Regions from separate parts of the Homo sapiens genome. Here region 1 is linked to region 2. The links are contacts of gene promoters, found by promoter capture Hi-C in human tissues and cell types (Jung and others, 2019). All regions are on one chromosome and are shown on one strand. The core of a region is centred on a gene start or on the middle of the fragment in contact, and the rest is flanking DNA. Distances in the headings are between cores, read along the strand shown. Region 1 has its middle 81 kb from the start of LINC01891. Region 2 holds the start of TRPM8 (transient receptor potential cation channel subfamily M member 8).

The links. Contacts are between HindIII fragments. The study calls those that stand out against the background at their distance.
Region 1: a contact is called between a fragment that was not itself captured here and the fragment with the promoter of TRPM8 in region 2, in 2 of the 25 tissues and cell types used here (bladder and liver).

The regions. Positions count from the first base shown.
Region 1 is chr2:234,370,527-234,376,364 of GRCh38, reverse strand. No RefSeq gene overlaps it. Among named protein-coding and RNA genes, the nearest start is that of LINC01891, 81 kb to the left of the region's middle. The HindIII fragment of the contact is 5,750 bases long and covers 1,146-5,838 here.
Region 2 is chr2:233,915,892-233,922,349 of GRCh38, reverse strand. It overlaps TRPM8 (transient receptor potential cation channel subfamily M member 8), which reads right to left and starts at 4,977. Exons shown (of 26, transcript NM_024080.5): 1 at 4,918-4,977. The HindIII fragment of the contact is 3,092 bases long and covers 4,237-6,458 here.

The sequences.
Region 1 (5,838 bases), core at 2,771-5,270, 450 kb before region 2:
TGATCTTCAGAAAATTTGGGAAAAATAAAAAATCAAGCTAGATGCAAATGCAGAAGAATAAAGGGAAGAAGGGAGGTGTTAGGCAGAAGTCCAGAGCTTCATCCTACCAATAATTTCAGAAGGAAAGTGCTATGATTTGAATGTTGGTGTCCCTCCAAAATTCATGTTGAGCCTGAACCCCCAATGCAACAGCATTAAGAGGTGAGACCTTTAGGAGGTGATTAGGTCAGGAGGGTTCCGCCTTCAGAAATGGAATTCATGACCTTATAAAAAGGCTTGGGTGCATCTGTTTGGCCCTTCTGCCATGAGAGGACACGTAGAAGGCCCCATCTATGATGCAGAGACCTCCCACCAGACACCCGATCTGCTGGTGCAGTGATCTTGGACTTCTCAGCCTCCAGAAGTATAAGAAATAAATTCCTGCTGTTTATAAATTATCCATTCTCGGGTATGTTGTTGTAACAGCACTAATGGACTAGGACAGAAGGGTGGACCCAGGTTCCTCTTGCTGCCTTCTGCTCAGGCCGAGTCCCCCCCAGCACGGCTGGGCTGCTGCACCTGGGTCTCACCTATCACCAAAGAGAAGCTGGGCAGGGCCTCAGGGAACTTCCAGAAACGTGAGGAGAGCATTCCTTCCTTGTTCACCTCTCCTGGGGACTTCATGATGATGTATATTCTGCTGAAACTGATCACAGATCTGGTATGATTCTATTCATTTTGTTTCACCATGAATCATAGTACTTGAAACACAGAAAGTAACATAGGGTCATCCTGTTCAATCCTTCTCTTTTTGTACCCCCTGCTCCACTCTCCCCACACTAAGGAAGAGAATAAAAAATAAAATGATGGACCCATCTATGTATGGCAGAATTTTAGTTCCTCTTCTATTCTTGCCAGCCTCTCTTCATATTCCTGAGTTCACAGGCACAAGTAACTGAACCAGCACTTGGCAAATTGTGGAGACAATTAGCCATTTGTTACTTGTTTTAATGAGCCAAGTGGATAATTGTTTCTGGCTAGAGCCACTGGGGATACAATCAGTCCTCTGCGTTCCTAATTTCTGGGTTAAATCTATGCTAGCGGAGTGGTCCTATCTGAAAAAAGACTGGAATGTTGCTCTTAGGATTGATAAAATGTTCTATCCTACTGCAAAAATCATCTCGTTACACCAGACCTGAGATTTACAGTTCACTCCTCACTCCCTTTAGGCGATGACAAAGGTGTTTCTTATAAGTTCCTGCAGGATGGTTGAGAGAGAGCAGAGGACAAGGGAACCATTCTCTTCTGCATTTCCAGGGGAGAGGACAAAGCCACAGGCATCTGCATGTGCCTGCAGCCATCTGCATGGCCATCTCTGCCCTTCTCTTGGGAGATCACAGTTTTGCTTATGTACAACCACTCTGAGCTCTCACTAAACTCATCTTTTCTATCTCAGCATTGAGGCACTGCGGGCGGCTCTCATGGGAAGTCCCTGATGAGCTCTATCAGAAAGGCAGCCTGCCTCTCCAGCCTCACCCATCAGGCCTGCTCTGAAAGCAGCTCCTCTCTTGCCAAGGCGAAGGCTTGGATTTACACCAGCTGTTGTGCACTCCGATTAAGACTGTCGTTGAATCAAACCCTTGAAAGCAGCCCTGATGCCCATGGTGTAGATTGAGTTTTCGTTCATGGGTCTCTCTGTGTGGAGTCTGTAGCTAACACAGATTTAGATATGGCAGTGAGCTCAACTGGAAAGAAGTCCTAATCGCAAGCACATTGGTACTTCTGGATAAGTTTTGGCAAAAGTTATACATTTTTTTGAAGGGTTTGAGGAAGAATAAAGATACACGAAGGCCTTTGTTAAGTAGCTGGATTATTCAATTATGCACAAAAATGGAGAAAAGACTTGGTACGAGTAATTTCAAATGACTGAACTATAATAAAAGTTGGCATTGGAGGATGGAGGACCCATTCTTGAGCGTGTGCGTGTGTGTATGTGTGTGCACGTGTGCAGCAAGGCGGGGGTTGCAGGGGTACGGAAACCTGCCTCATTTGCTGGTGCAACTAACCCTGCTCTTGTGACGTCATCTTTCCCCGCCCCTCCTCTGTAACCTGAAAGTTGTAGGAAAAGAATTGTTCACCACATTGTTTGTGTATGATTAGTTATTCAGCTGTACAAACTTTTTTCTAGTGTATTCACCTCCTAGAAATAGTGGAATTAAGAGAAAAAGACAACTAACTTATTGGAGACTCCTACTACCTACCGGGTGCATCACCTCCATGCCTCATTTAAGTCTCAAGGAGACCCTGGATGTAGGTGTTAATATTCTGTTTTTAAAGATGTGAAATCTGAGGATCAGAGAGGTTAAGTTATTTGCGTAAGATCACACAGCTAGTAGTAGTAGATACAAGAATTGAATAGAGGCAGTTAGTTGCCAAATGCACAGCTCCGTCTACTCTAAAACTGTAACCTAGATGTCAGGGGGACGTTGTCAGTCTTCCACCATTCCTGCAAGTTCCCAGGGGGCTCCTCCTCGTGGTCTCTTCTGTCCTAAATGCTTCTGAGTCTGTGTGAGCTGCCTCTGTTCCATCCCTTAGACACAATGATAAAAAAGCCCAGGCACCTCACCAGTTACATAAGGTATCTACTCACACCAAGCGTTTTGTGGGGCTAGGAACTTGACTAACAGAAGGTTTAGGGGTGAGATCACGAGCTGCAGTGACTTCCTCCTCTCTCCCCCTCCCATTCTGTTCCTTCCCCAGCTCACCCAGTGGGCTCCTGCTTTCGGAACTTTTGTAGAAAGTAAAGCAACCACACTCCATGACCTCTCTCCACGCACGCTAGAGCTGGGAGCACGCCATGGATGAAACACACGGTGAGATGCAGCTCAGGCTTCTCTCCGGGGGCTTCCAAGCAGCCCCACAGAGTTGTTCCAAAATGGAGTCACTCATACTTAAATTCCATGTCACCAAACTGAAACGACGTTGTTTATCTGACATTTGAGAAATCAGAAGGGAGATCCAGTTGTAAGCTATGTGGTAAGAAAGTCCCTCTGCTTCAATCCTTGTGAGGAAGGCAGCCTGAGGTGACCTGATGCCACCCCACCTCTGGTTTGTCTTATGCTATTTCCTTGTTCCTGCTCAAGCTGCCTTACAAAAACCAACTCTTCTGCCCACGGGGCAAAGCACCTTTTCTGTTTCATAGCTGGGTACATCATGACTCATGAATCAAAAACAAAATGGCAACAAGTTTAAAGATCGAATTGGCAAAGGCCAACTTTTTTTTTTTTAATTTGTTTTTGACAGAGTAAAAATCACCTTGTCCTTGAAGAAAAGCATCAAATGAGCCATTTTGTCTAAACTGCCAAATCCGATCTCAACTACACCACTATGGCAATAAGGCACTGATCAAATTTTCCTTTCTGGACATGGCCAGTTCTAACCAGAGGGGAAGGTTCATCATTTAGGGGAGAAAAATGATACAGTATTTGGGACACAATTATACTAAAAAAAAATTATTTGTTGTTTACTTGAAATTTAAATTTAACTGGATGCCCTATATTTTATCTGGCAACCCTAAGAAGGAGGCATAAGAAAGGGATTATGGCCGAGTGTGGTGGCTCATGCCTGTAATTCTAGCATTTTGGGAGGCTGAGGCAAGAGGACTGCTTGAGGCCAGGAGTTTGAGGCTACAGTGAGTCATGATTGCACCACTGCACTCCAACCTGGGTGACAGAGTGAGATCCTGTCTCAAAAAAATAAAAAAGGAAGCTTAATTTCATGGAGCTAATTTTCATGCAGGATATGCTTAGAGATTCAGAACTTGATCGTGTTTCCAATGCACAACTGTTTTGGGAGAGAAATAGTTTCTTAAATCCTTTGAGTTCATTTTCCATGAATTAACCAAGTATTGAAAACTTGGGTGAAGAGTGTTGTGTTAATTGGAAACATTGCTATCACAATCTCCAAGTATGGTTTTTAAGTAAGCCTGGGAAATTGCAGTTTGAAAATGCCATTAGCATCAATCAAAATGAAACACGAGCGTGACACCCAGGAAATGCCCTGGGAGGGCAGAGGGGAGAGAAAGAGGGAAAAAAAAAAAAAAAAAGGCAAACTTTTCTGCCTAGAAGCTCTCTGCAGCTTCGGGCATGCCACAGAGGAGGCTTTCTTGCCTCTCCACCTGCAGGAGCCTCACCTGAGAAGACAGAGAGCAGCTGCATCAGCTCCCGATATGAAAAAGTGAAAACAAACAAGCCCTGGGAAAATAGACATCATATAAATGTTTAATGTGGCTGCATTAACTACATAAAGGCATGCTCATGCTTTGTAGACAAAATAGTTAAAGTCTAATGCATGGCAGTGATCAGCAAATTATTAAATTGTGCAAGTGCTGATGCTCCCGTTTCCAATTTCCTAATGTTCCTGATGCCATTACAGGTAAATGGTGCCGGCCCCATGTGCACAGAGGGATCTTCACTTGCTTTCTTTTTTTTTTTTTTTGGTTTCCAAAGCTAATGGTTTTTCCCATTAGCCTTATAAAAGTAATGCATGTTCATGTTTTAAAAACTTCACAAAAGCTAGCTTGAAAAATATAATCCATAATCCCCCCTGCTCCCCAGTACTCACTTCTAATTCCAGATGTATTTCTTTTCTGTCTTTTTTTCTTTTTTAGGCACAGTTTTGCTCTGTCGCCCAGGCTAGAGTGCAGTGGCATGATCTTGGCTCACTGCAATCTCTGCCGCCAGGGTTCAAGCAATTCTCCTGCCTCAGCCTCCCAAGTAGCTGGAATTATAGGCACCCACCACCACGCCTGGCTAATTTTTGTATTTTTAGTAGAGACAGGGTTTCACCTTGTTGGCCAGGCTGATCTTGAACTCCTGACCTCAGGTGATTCACCCACCTCGGCCTCCCAAGGTGCTAGGATTATAGGCGTGAGACACACTGCACCTGGCCCTTTTCTGTCTTTTTAAAAAATGTCATTTTGTATAGAGCATACACTACTGTGTTCTGAGGTTTTTTTTTTTTTTTTTTTTACATTACCAAGAATTCCTTTTTAACATAATTTTAAATAGCAGCAGCATACTGGAAATAAATTAAAGGTATGATTAGCAGAAAAATGTATAACAAATGATCCTAAATATTAGCTAGAAGTGAGCCACAAATGCACCAGCTCTCTGCTAGCTGAAGCCAAGACATCCACACCACTAGTTTACAGGATTCATAATGTTTGTAAAATAAAACACAATATGCACTTCAGGGCCATGTTTTTCAGATATTGACACCCAAGGGGGAATTTTCTCCATGAACCCTTCTTGGGAGGATCCATTTATTCTACAAATAAGCCTGCATATGAGAGATAAGAAGGACACTGATGGGATTCAAGGCACACTACCTCAAAGTACAGCATGTTAGCACATTGAGTATTTTAAGCCAAAGAACTATAGGCCTGGTGAGATGGCTCACGCCTATAATCCCAGCACTTTGGGAGGCAGAGGTGGGAGGGTCCCTTGAGGCCAGGAATTTGAGACCAGACTGGGCAACATAGCAAAACCTCGTCTCAACCAAAAGTTAAAAAAAAAAATGACCCGGGTATAGTGGCATGCACCTGTGGTCCCAGCTGCTTGGGAGGCTGAGGCAGGAGGATCACTTGAGCCCAGGAGTTCGAGGCTGCAGTGAGCCATGATTGCACCACTGCACTCCAGCCTGGGCAACAGAGTGAAACCCTGTCTCTTAAAAAAAAAATATATTGAGGTGTGGCAAGTGCAAGAAGAGCGCTCTGACCTTCCCCTGCACTCTGACCTTCCCCTGCACTCTGACCTTCCCCTGAAGCAGGCCACAAGACCCTCATGTGAGAGGTGCCCC
Region 2 (6,458 bases), core at 3,728-6,227:
AATCATGCCCTAAACTTACCAATGGCCAAAGCAAAGGGATTGTAAAAAGAAAATAAAATTTTAGGACCTTCCAGGTTGATTATGCCAAGGGGAAAAGTGAAGCTCTGAAAACAGAGTCACATAGCACAGCTATTTTTGCACAACCCTTGCTGACTGACTTTTGCAAGGGTTGTGCAAAACCAGATGGAGATGTTCTACCTTAACCGGACTCCCTATCCTTCATTCTAACCTAGACTTAATTGATGTTGGAGACAGAGACCCTTGCGACTGTAACCTCTTTACAATAGACTGTTAAGCAACCCCCTTAGAGTATAAACAGTAGTAGTCAATCAAATCTTACATTTGTACAGTAGCCTTCATACAGAAAATGTGTTTCTGGCCGGGCATGGTGGCTCACGCCTGTAATCCCAGCACTTTGGGAGGCCAAGGCAGGGGGATCACTTGAGGTCAGGAGTTTGAGACCAGCCTGGCCAACATGGCGAAATCCCATCTCTACTAAAAATACAAAAATATTAGCTGGGTGTGGTGGCGGGCACCTGTAATCCCAGGTACTTGGGAGGCTGAGTCACCAGAATCCCTTGAACCTGGGAGGTTGCAGTGATCCGAGATCACGCCCCTGCACTCCAGCCTGGGTGACAGAGTAAGACTCCATCTCAAAAAAAAAAAAAAAAAGAAAAGAAAAGAAAAAGAAAAAAGAAAAAGAAAAAAAAGAAAAGAAAAAAGAAAATGTGTTTCTGTTCGGCACCTCTGGCTTTGCCTGTATAAATGATTCTCCCTTTTCCCCATCCCAGGTGCAGTGATCACCATCCTTTGCTGTCATTCTGCTGTCTGGATGGCGGCCCTCATCTTTGCACTTGAATAAACTCTTTTAATTGGATCCTGAGCCTTTTGATTATTTTAGGTTGACAGGATGAACATAGTCAATTACAAGCTTCAAGGCATCCATAAACTAACTTCAAACCCACATTCCCTGATACAGAGGCCAGGGTGAAAAGAACTCCTACATTTGGGGACAGGTAGGATGAGGAGGATGGGGTGATTGTAAAGGGGCAGAGTGAAGGGGCTTTTCTAGTGATGGAACAGTTCCAAAATTCGGTTGTGGCAGTAGTTATACGAATCTACTGACGTGATAAAATTGCATTAAACTATACACACATGAATGAATGCATGTCCAAGTGGTGAAATCTGGGGCCGGGCGTGGTAGTTCATGCCTGTAATCCGAGCACTTTGGGAGGCCAAGGCGGGTGGATCGCCTGAGGTCAGGAGTTCGAGACCAGCCTGGCCAACATGGTGAAACCCCATCTCTATTAAAAAAATACCAAAAAATTAGCCAGGCATGGTGAAGGGCACCTGTAATCCCAGCTGCTCAGGAGGTTGAGGCAGGAGAATCACTTGAATCCAGGAGGCGGAGGTTGCGGTGAGCCAAGATCACACCATTGCACTCCAGCCTGGGCAACAAGAACTAAACTCCATCTCAAAAAAAAAAAAAAAAAATGGTGAAATCTGATAAAGCCTTTGCATTGTGCCAATGCCAATTCTCTGGTATTAATCTTGTATGATAGTTACATGAGGTGTCACCATTGAGGGGAACTGGGTGAAGAGTACACAGACCCTCTCTATGCTTTTTCCTCTTCCACTTCCTGTGAAGCTATAATTATCTCAAAATAATAAGTTAAAAGAAAAATGCCTATGCCAAAAGCACACTGGGCCACATAGTGGTAAATATCCCTGCACAGCCATGCAAGACTTACAGCACTAAACTTAGCCTGGCTATTTCTTAGAATGTCCTGAATGCAAGTTGAAGCTATGCCATGAAAGTAAAATTCAATGGAATTATCTCCATGGCAGGCCCAAAGGAAGGGACCTTCACAGAGAGATAGCTAAGGATTTGTCCAGTTCTAGGATTTACTTGTTTAACTATGTCAATCTTTGCTTTCATGTTTTTAATCAATAATCTCAATTATTTCTATTCATGGTCTTTACTCTCAAAAATTTCAAATGGGCCTGATGAATTTAATGGAATCTTAATGACCACCATAGAGATAACCTCAGTAAAAATTAAAATCAAGATGGACTCTTGAAATACCGTTCACATTTTTTTCAAAACTTCACGATAGACCTACCATACCTATCAGGAGAGATGGCAGTTACAAACTAAGGACCAACAGTTCCTACAGTTTCTCACACAGGAAACTATACGTCATCCTGCAGGCTGACTCACTGGACTTATTAAAACTCAGAGTGCTGGGCCCCACCTCAAGAGCATGAGACATCTGCAGTGAGCCCCAGATTCTGCATCTCTAGCAAGTTCCCAGGTGCTAATGAGGTGGCCTCAGGACCACCTTCAGAGGACCACTGGCCCACAGATCACACCAAGGACCCCCTTGTCCTTAAAGTGCAATAAAATGTTTCCAGAGCATATAATCAAATCTTTTCAAAACACATGCAGGTAACTGATTGGATGTTCAAGCGGCAATATCATGTTAATTTTGGCTTTGTGTTCTTGTGTAGTCACAACTTGAATGTCTGAACATTACAATTTGTCCTGCTTGCACATGAAACATACATCTCCATCAGACCAGGAACACCATCCAAATGTCAGTAATAAATAACTGTTATGTATTGTGTCATGTCTATTATGTGCCAGGCACTGTACTTGTAATAAAATAATAATCCATATAACACATGGCAAGATGGATCCATGTAAATACTCTTTACATGGATACGTTAAAGAGTATTTACATGGATCCATCTCCCCATGAGTTATATGGATTATTATTTTCTCCTTTAGATGGATGACAAACCAAGGCACAGAGAGGTTAGGTAACTTTCCCAAAGTCACACAGCTAATAAGTAGAGGATGCAGAATTCAAAATCAAGCAGGCTGGCCTGAGACCCAATCTTAAACATTAAGCTAATTTGTGCCACTTTAATACAGCTTTGAGAAGAAATAGATTGTCATCTTAACAACATTAGTACACTGCCAAAATTTAAACAAAGGGTTACAAACCTCATGTTGTTTGCTGAGGGGAGAGGTTGGCCGTGGTACTATTTTTATTATCAATGGTCATGAATAATTTTAAATAGTCTAGAAGTCACTCATGAACAACAGAATATTCATGCATCCTTTGAACTCAATACAAAAAAAATATTAGTGTGCTCTTATTATCCTAATAAAAAAAGGCTTCTGGCATGTTTTATAAGTTGCTTTTTAGCTCACCTATCACCATGGTCAAATCAGTCCTAAAGTGTCATTTTCAATCAGGATTGTCTAGTTCTAAGTCTCTTTCTGATTAAAAAAAAAATGGGGTGGGGGGAGAAACAAGATGTTTTCCTTTGCACACTGAATGAGAGAGGAAAAACTTGTTCATACTCTAAGGAAAATGCTCCAAAGGGCCCCACACCAAACCCCAGCCATCTCCACTCTTTGAGCCATCAATTATTCATGAAAATGGTGAGTATAACACTTGCAGAAGCTTCAAATATAAATGACACCATCCAGAGAGATCTCCTCCACTCTTATTTTGGCAGGGGCATGGCAGGGGTGCATACAAGGGTTACAATACCTGAAAAGGTCACTAGGCATCTGTGCCTCCATGTCTCAGTCACCACCAGGAGAGAGCTGAGATTTATTTTGTTGTAGGCATTATCCTGTTTTTCTAATTGCCTCTATCAGCCAAATTTTTTTCAGTTTGAATAGATGGATGAAAACTAGGAAAATAGCAAAAGCCAGTGGAGGCTCCCGAAGTCATTGACCCCAAGGTATCCTGCTCCAAAAAGTAGAAGTGAGAAACAGGAGGTAGATACAGGCAGCAGGTGATGCTCCAAGATGCTATTTGCTGAGACCCTCTTAGAATAAGAGGAAAAGCAGGGGTCCCTATGCAGCCTGGACCCCTACTGTCTTCACAGGTGCCAAGAATGATATCAGTTCTTAGGCAAAACAAAGATAGTGATAATTATTATTATAAATTGTAATGTAATTATAATTTATAATGTAATTATATTATTTCTATAACAATTATATTATTTGTAATATAATTATAAATATCTTATTAATAAATAATAATAAACAGCTTTTTTCCAAATTATAAATAAATATGCATCCAAAGTCACAACCTTGGAAGTAAGTCCTTTGCACTGTCAAGATTTTGACAAGCTAAAACTTCTCTCATGATCAGTATCTTTGTATTAGCACATATAGAATAGTCTTAAGGAATAACCATTTCCTTATGTTCAGCTCAAGAATCCTAACACTGAAAAAGTCAGCACTGGCAATAATGGATTGAAAATTAAATGGAAATAAAACCTTTAATTATTCATCCAGCCCTTCAGTGTTTCTCTCTTGCTTATAAATAATACAAATGATGAGCCTGTTTCAACAGGCTGGAAGAACGGAAGGAAACACAGTATGTAAAAACAAGCTAAATATACCCGCTCCTTTCATTATCAAAGAATATTTACTATTTGAATGCATTATTTCTTGATGTTAATTTACATTTCACCATAGTCTTGATTCAAGAAAAAACTTGTTTTATTATGTTCCCAATAGGATTGCTTCAGATAGTCAGTTGCAGAGTTCAGATGCCAGTGAATTTTTCATTAAAGCTCATTTAGGGAGTTTCTAACTCCTTCAATCAGAAACAGAAAACTGTAATTATATTTAAAGTCATTCAAAAATTCAGCAAATAATTCTACATTTCTAAATAAATCTAAGTGAGGATTAGATATATCTGTGAACCCGCATTTGCTTATGCCCACAACACTTTGAGGAATTTAAATTTTTGTCTTCCTTTAGTTTCAAATCTTCATAGAAAAACTAAATGATGCCCCTCCCAGAGACACAAACTCGTACTATTCTACAAGTTACAGCAATGGCAACATTTAAGGAGAAGCAAAAAGCAAAAGTTGATGACATACCCTAAGTGACGGTTTTTGTCAAGCAGGATTTTCTTTCACCCAAGGATCCTGCTGGTCTCTCCCCACAGGAGGAGGAAAGCTTTTATAACTGGAATCTTCTTAGCCCCGCCTTCTTCTCTGAGGTTCTTTTAAGCAGAGGAACAAAAAACTTAAGCCGCTGAAATTGCAAGAAGACTCCTAAAGCCTCCAAGCATAGCAGCAATTTAGCAGTGGAATACGAGTAGGGAATGGATAATTAGTGAACATGGTATTTTAAATGCTAATAAAGAAATGATACCAAATTCCTGCTCTTAGCTTGACAATAACACCATAGTATGAAATCATACTAATACTTAATTTCTGCAATTAATGGCACATTTTAAAAACCACAAATAAAATGGGAAATGCTCATTATAGAAAGTGATGACAAGATTAATTAATAAATTAAAAGCTCTTAATTAAGATTAGGAAAAAAATTATTAAATAGAGGAAATTTAACCAACATTGCTTTTTTGCAGATTTTGTGAACTTTCCTCATACCAACTAAATGCAGTATTGGGCCAGGCAAGAGGGCATCATGGAGGTGAGCAAATCCAGCTTCATTAATTTACAGCTATTTCCTGTCCCCTTTAAACTACACTTTGGAAGAGCTCTCCTCGAAGAAATAAGTAACAATTGTCAGTGGGCAACTTTCGGTCATTTTACTTAAATCACGTGCCACAAACATAACAGTTATATTATAACTAATGTTCCTCTGTTTTGGCCATTATTTCTATTTTATTTTCATATGAAGCATATGTCATAGAGAAATACAAATAGGATAGTGTATTTCAGGAACTGATTGCACAAGACATACACTTGCAAAAAGGTTAGAGATGAAAGAGAAGGAGTGTGAAGGGGTTTTTTGCAAAGGCAGAGAGATTTGAGCAAGGTCTGAAAGGAAGGATAGGGTTGTAGTGATAACTCCTGCAGAAAGCATGTTCAATTCAAGAAGAAAACCCCCTTAACAAAGAGAGACAAAAGACTCCAGACAGAGGTCTCAAACTCAAATATTCCAAGGCTCAGACAGGTCATAAAGATGAAGGGAGCAGCCAAGTGTTAGGTAGTAAGTAGGGAAGGGTGGGGGCTGTGGAAAACTGGAAATGATAGATTTGAATGAGGACCCGTGAGAGAAGAGATCCAGCTAGAAATAGAGAGAGAGAATCAGAGAAATCTCAGAATTACTCTAAATATGGGTCCTAGGACTAAAAACTCCCATACCCAGCATGGTCCCCAAGCACATATATAGCACTGCACAGGGGAGCAAGTCCATCTGAGGAGCGGAGCAGCAAAATGAGCTTTTTAGCTGTTAGAAATATTGAGCCAGCTGGGTGCAGTGGCTCATGCCTGTAATCCCAGCACTTTGGGAGGCTGAGGCGGGCCGATTGCTTGATGTCAGGGGTTCAAGACCAGCCTGGGCAACATGGCAAAACCCTGTCTCTACTAAAAATACAAAAATTAGCCAGGTGTGGTGGCACGTGCCTGTAATCCCAGCTACTCAGGAGGCTGAGACATGAGAATCC